Linked DNA regions of Homo sapiens: region 1 is linked to region 2. The links are contacts of gene promoters, found by promoter capture Hi-C in blood cells and fetal thymus (Javierre and others, 2016). All regions are on one chromosome and are shown on one strand. The core of a region is centred on a gene start or on the middle of the fragment in contact, and the rest is flanking DNA. Distances in the headings are between cores, read along the strand shown. Region 1 overlaps ADAMTSL3 (ADAMTS like 3). Region 2 holds the start of SH3GL3 (SH3 domain containing GRB2 like 3, endophilin A3).

The links. The method cuts DNA at HindIII sites, captures the fragments that hold promoters and counts their contacts. A CHiCAGO score of 5 or more calls a contact.
Region 1: a fragment that was not itself captured here is called in contact with the fragment with the promoter of SH3GL3 in region 2 in 1 of 17 cell types (M2 macrophages); the score reaches 5.3 in M2 macrophages.

The regions. Positions count from the first base shown.
Region 1 is chr15:84,030,402-84,033,479 of GRCh38, forward strand. It overlaps ADAMTSL3 (ADAMTS like 3), which reads left to right. Exons shown (of 30, transcript NM_207517.3): 28 at 934-1,031. Among named protein-coding and RNA genes, the nearest start is that of GOLGA6L4, 200 kb to the right of the region's middle. The HindIII fragment of the contact is 1,662 bases long and covers 727-2,388 here.
Region 2 is chr15:83,445,874-83,449,086 of GRCh38, forward strand. It overlaps SH3GL3 (SH3 domain containing GRB2 like 3, endophilin A3), which reads left to right and starts at 1,468. Exons shown (of 9, transcript NM_003027.5): 1 at 1,468-1,705. The coding sequence starts at 1,661. RefSeq lists an enhancer at 1,164-1,323. The HindIII fragment of the contact is 8,141 bases long and covers 1-3,213 here.

The sequences.
Region 1 (3,078 bases), core at 308-2,807, 580 kb after region 2:
AGGAGATCATATCGGAACTTTAAGATTTGACTGCCCCATTGGATTTTGGCCTTGTATGGGGCCTATAGTCCCATTATTTTGGCCAACTTCTCCCATTTGGAATGGGTGTATTTATCCACTGCCTGTACCTCCACTGTATCTAGGAAGTAACTAACTTACTTTTCATGTTACAGGCTCATAGGCAGAAGAGACTTGCCTTATTTCAGATGAGACTTTGGACTTGGACTTTTGGGTTAATGCTGGAATGAATTAAGACTTTGGGGGACTGTTGGGAAGGCATGAATGCTTTTGAAATGTGAAAGGGACATGAGATTTGGGAGGGGCCACGGGCAGAATGATATGGTTAGGCTTTTTGTCCTCACCCAAATCTCATCTTGAATTTTAATCCCCACAATCCCCACATGTCAAGGGAGAGACCAGGTGGAGGCAGTTGGATCATGGCGACAGTTTCCCTCATGCTATTCTCATGATAGTGAGTGAGTTCTCACAAGATCTGATTGTTTTATAAAGGGGGCTCTTCTCCCTTCACTTGGCACTTCTCCTCTTTGCCGCTTGTGAAGAAGGTGCCTTGTTTCCCCTTCACCTTCTGACATGATTGTAAGTCTTCTGAGGCTTCCCCAGCCATGCTGACTGTGAGTCAATTAAACCTCTTTCCTTTGTAAATTACCCAGTCTCGGGTATGTCTTTAGAGCAGTGTGAAAATGGACTAATACAGAGGGGATGGTAAGCTTAGGCAGTTTCTTCCTGACTCTGAAAAAGAGGTGTCTGGTCCACAGAGCTGTACCCTAATCCTCTTTAACTCCCCCCTGGGGACAGTTGGTTACAGTCCCCTTGTAATAGGTCTTCAGCTATCCTGCCTCAGTACATGATCTTAGTACACACAGCATGGATGAGCTTGCAGGATTTACACTGCACTGTGCTTTTTTGTTCCAGTGTCCTGGACGTTGCATGGGCCGTGCTGTGAGGATGCAGCAGCGTCACACAGCTTGTCAACACAACAGCTCTGACTCCAACTGTGATGACAGAAAGAGGTAGGGGCCCCACCCCAGAGCAGCACACATTCTCTCCTGACTCACTCAGGACAATGATTATAACTGCCTGAAAATGGAATCCTTTCTAGTTTCTACCAACTCTCATAATTGACAGTTTTCAATTATGATTTATTTAGTGTCATCTTCAATAGTATATATTATACTGAAATACTAGTTAATGTGCACTATTTATAACTATAAATTGTTTGGATGTTAAACAATAAAGGGACACCACTCTATGTGGTAAAAGGGGAAAAGGATATCATTGAGAAAACGGAGATACTTCTCCCTCTATATACTAAGTTAATCAAGCCTAATAATATTCCATTTAGGCTTACAGATTAAATCTTCTTAATGCTTTTAATGAACTGCTTTATTTCTCTGTTTAGAAAATGTTTTGATTAGGATATTGTCACAGTGGTTGGCAGATAGTAAAATAAACTTTAATCTTGTTGAGGAGGTTAAATAAGGGTGGAGTTTGCTTTCCTCCTTTTATAAAAGTCTGAGCTGGTAGATGGTTTAGGGATAGAAGAGCTTTTTTCATGGGGTCATCCAGAGATCCAGATGCCCTCCATCTGGCAGCTCTACCATCCAAGAGAACAGCACCCCAGCCAGCAGAAAGTGGGGAGAGAGCCTAGAAGGCACACTAATCGGGGGCTTGGGAGTTCTATTATATCACTCACTTACTGTGTGACCCTGGACTGCCTAGCCACCTAATCTGCAAAGTGGGATATTATCATCCATGTGAACTTATGTTTAGAAAGTTTTAATGATTTAGCTTAGTGTGAAACACGAGGCAGCCTGGGTCATGGAAGATGCTCAATATCTGGCTATTTCTTCCTTTTCCATGTCCTGAGTCTTGCTGGAGAAAATGAGATGACCTTGACAGTTGGCTGGGTTACCATTTTGAGCCTTCAGTAAGGTTTGGCAATGTAGGGTCAGTTGCATTTCCTATTCCCCACAAAGTGATTTCAAGCCAAAACCATTCTCCTCAAATGGAAAATGTTTGGAACGGCTGCTCTCATTCTCAACAGACAACCTAAGTTTCCTATTTTCCTGAGAAGATACAGACCACACACAGATTGATATGCATCATCCCAGGTGCTTTACTTTGCATTCACAAAGATATACTTAAAGCACAAATACATACATGGGTCACATACATATTTTTCTGAAACTTGCTTTTTCTACCTAAGAATATATTATAGATAATTCCCATCAAGTAAAGATTAACTTTATTCTTTTTAATTTTGTACTTAATACTCTATTCTACTCAATATTCTATCTAAATTTTGTACTTAATATTCTGTTGCTAATGGACATTGGATAGTTTCAAACTTTTTGCTATTATAAACTAAGCTTCAGTAAATATCCTGGAACATATATCTTTGGGTACAAAGGGTAATATTTTTATAGAGTAGATTTTTAGATAATGGAATTGAATTGGTAGGAATGCTCATTTTGATGCTATCAAATTGCCATCAAAATTTCTATGCCAGCAATATGTGAGAGTTGCCCCCTTTTCATCAACATGATATAGGTTTGCAGTCTTTTAAAATTTTTGCCAATCTGATGGATGAAAATTTATCTCATTGTAATGTGTACTTTCCTGATTACTTTTTTATATGATTTTTTATTCCTTATATTTTTTTTCTTGAACTCATCTTCATTTTTTCTTTTCTGCCACCATTACCCTTGGCCAAACCACCATCGTATCTCACCTGGTATACTGTCACAGCTGTCCAACTGGTCCCCCTTCATCCATCCATGCTCCTTTCCAACCCAGTCTCCACAGTACAGCCAGAGTGAGTTTTCCCAGATGCAAATCTGATCCTACCACCACCACAACCCATCTCCCTGCTAGACTAAAATTACTTTAGAGGTTTTACTTGCTCTTAGGAAGATTGACCAAATCCTCAATGTGACCTATAAAATACCACATGCTTGGCTGGGCATGGTGGCTCACACTTGTAATCCTAGTACTTTGGGAGGCTGAGGCAGGCAGATCACTTGAAGTCAGGAGTTTGAGACCAGCCTGCCAACATAG
Region 2 (3,213 bases), core at 218-2,717:
TCCAGCTGCAGCTGGCTCTCTGCCTTATGTAGTGGTTGGCCTGCGGTGAAGCCCACTGTTGAGAGGCATTTGAACTGTTGTATGGACAGGTCATCTTGCTACGCCATTCTGACCCAGCTGTCACCACCCTCACACTTTTTAGTTATCTATCAGTGGCTGGTGTCAGGCAGGTAAGCCCACAACACTCACCCAAGTCATGCTCATTAACCCTCTGACTGGCTGCCCTTATCCCACGATCTCCACTAAGTTCAAGCATTTTTTCCCCAGTATCAGAGGAGGAACACTGTTTATTCCAGTCTACATGCTTCAAGTAGAAGTGAGGAAACCAAGGCCCAGAGAGGTGTGTACTTACTTGCCCAGTCCTCACTAGGATGAAGTCAGGGTTAGGACTAGCCCCGACTGGGCGCTGGGAGCTAACAGCTAGGGGAGGAACTGCATGACTTTTGTCCTGGAGAAATGTTATGGCAGGTGGACACCAGGGCACAGGCATATACCCGAAGTGTCCAGGGCAGACAGGGACTGCTCGTCACCCCAGATGGGACCTGCTAAGGGCCCAAAAAGAGACTGAAGGTGGGAAATGTTTTTGTTTTTCAGTGTGAAGCGTTGCCAAACATATATTCTAGGTTTGGGAATCCTCGGGACCTTTGGAAGCCAGATTCAGCGAAGATGCTGTACCTTTTGGGGATAGCTCTAACACGAGGTTAACGCAATGCTCCATGTCCCTGGCTGGGCTTAGCTGTGAGTGCGTCGACCTCTGGACTCTGTGCAAATGGACACTCTGTAACTGACACAGCTGGTAGGGGTTACCGAGAGAGCTGGGTTCCTGGTCTGGTGGACTCCGCCGGATATGCAACGAGCTCTTTATGGCACCTTGGAGATGGTTGCTTTTAGTGCCGTTGACAGCGGGCTCAGAGCACCAAGTGAGCTAGCACCGTATTTATTAGTAAATTACTCCATAACTCTAGGGCTCCCAGAAGACCAAAATCATTTGAGCAGATTGCACCCAGAGCACCGCGTGGAGAGAGAAGAAAGCCCGCCACCCACAGACCGCTTCCTCCTACCACAGGTCCCCCATCGAGTTGCATTTGTTGTCCCTCCCTAGGCGCATTTCTGAGCCTTCCTTTCTTAAACATACACCGAGCGAAAATGCGCCGGAGGGAGGCGATGTTGCCTGTGAGCCAAAGCCGGTTCGGCACCAAGACAGAAGCAGAGAGAACTGATCTCTCTCCCGGTACCCATGACAATCTCAGAGCTAGATCTATATCGTCCCGCGCCCAGCAAGAAGCACTGTGTGACTGTACTCCCCCGACCCCCAGGACATCCCCACGCCCAGCTTCCCAGGCCGGTCTTCTGCGCGGCTCAAGTAGCCCAGGTCTCCACGCAACAATGAAGCGTGGGCGGCCCCAGCAGCTTCATTTGCATATCGCCGCGGCTTGGCCAATGGGCTGCGCAGGGGCTTTGGAACGCAGTGTTGCCATCGGCGTGCGCGCGTGTGTGCGAGTGTGACAGCGGCTGTGGCTGTGGCCGTGGCCGTGGGAGGCGGGCCCGGCGGAGCCCAGCCGCGGGGGGACCGGCCCGGGCTCCCGCTCCCCGAGCGCGTCGCGGCCGCGTGGCCCAGCCGAGCCTTGAGACCACCCCGCCCCTGCCGGTCGCAGTCGCGATGTCGGTGGCCGGGCTGAAGAAGCAGTTCCACAAAGCCAGCCAGGTAGGGAGGCGCAGAGGAGGGAAGGAGGGAGGGGGACGCGGAGGCTGCGGCCCCCCGAGGCTCCCGGGCCTTTGGGACTCCTGTTCCCTGAAGGGCCTCTCTCGGGGCTCAATTTCTTCCCGCCTAGGAGGGCGCGAGGGTGGGGTGAGGGGCCGCCTGCTCTCTCCTCGGCGTCTTGGCGCCTTCTCCTTCCCATTCCCTGGCCCCCGGCTCTGCCCTGGGCCGTTGTAAATCGGAGAGATTCTGCGGAGCGGAGGGCAGAGGTGGCGGCCGCGGGGACTCGGGAGGCGGAGACGGAGTGGGCGTGGGGGGGCCCCTACCCGCGCGAGGGGAGGACGACCACAGGGAGTACGATGCCGGCAGGGCCTCCCCCGAGTCTCCAGCCGTTTGGTTGGGAGAGCCTCGTGGGGGGCCCATCCTCCACCGGCCACCGGCGCCTCCAGAGATGCTGTGTATTTGGCGCTTGGCTGTGTCCCGCTGAGCTCCCCGCGCGCGCATCGAAATGGCCCCGTCTGGACTGTGCCCGGCTCCCCGGCTGGGGCTCTCTACCGCGGTCCTTCCCCTCCCCACCGTCTTCCCGGTGTCGGCCCGGGGCTGGGCATCACGCTTCTGCTCTTACAGAGCTGACAGCCTGCAGGGGAGACACGGAGACAGACACGTAAACAAACAGTGCTAGACACACCTCCACGCACAGAGGATGACAAATAACACAGTGGGGGCGTCAGGGAGAGCTTCCCGGAGGAGGAGACATGTCATTTGAGAATTAAGTATGAGGAAGAATTATGGCTGAGGGTGTGGGATGATAGGAGGAAAGCCGTTCTGAGCAGAGGAAACAGGAAAACAGGAGGGGAGACATGAAATTGATGTGTGTGTGTGTGTGTGTGTGTGTGTGTGTGTGTGTGTTGATGACAAGCAAATTTGTTTTTCAACATCAACATTGCAGGCTCTTCCAGCTATGGCAGAGCTCACGTTGTAAAACCTGTTCCCCACCAGCACCGCTGGGTCTGTTGCTTCTCACCACCTCTCCCCGCAACCCCAGCCCCCATTTTGCTAGAGCCAGGGTAGACAGATTTCATTCAACGTCCACATTTGTGGTGAGGTCTCATCCTGCTTCTCCCACAAATTGGCCCATAGAAAGCAACTGCAATTAGAAGATTCTCTTCTTCTAGCCCCAGTTCCAGGCTGAAAGGCACTGCTGTCCCCTCACTCACACTCTTTCCATATGGAAACTGGGTGATGCTGTTTCTAGCTGGGGGCACTGGGTGGACAGTGGTGCTATTCAAGGTGTTAAGGAGCCCTGGAGGAGAGGCTATTCAGGTGAGGGTGGAGATGATGGATTCACCACTGAACCCAGGGACTTTGAGGGGTCTTTGGGACATTCACATGTCACTGGCCTGGGTTGGGGTGCATATCCTGACCTGCAGCTCAGGGGGTGAGGCTGGTACTGGAGCTACAGATTTTTGGTGATTTCCAGCCTAAGCGGAGATTTAAAAATGTATGTGTAGACA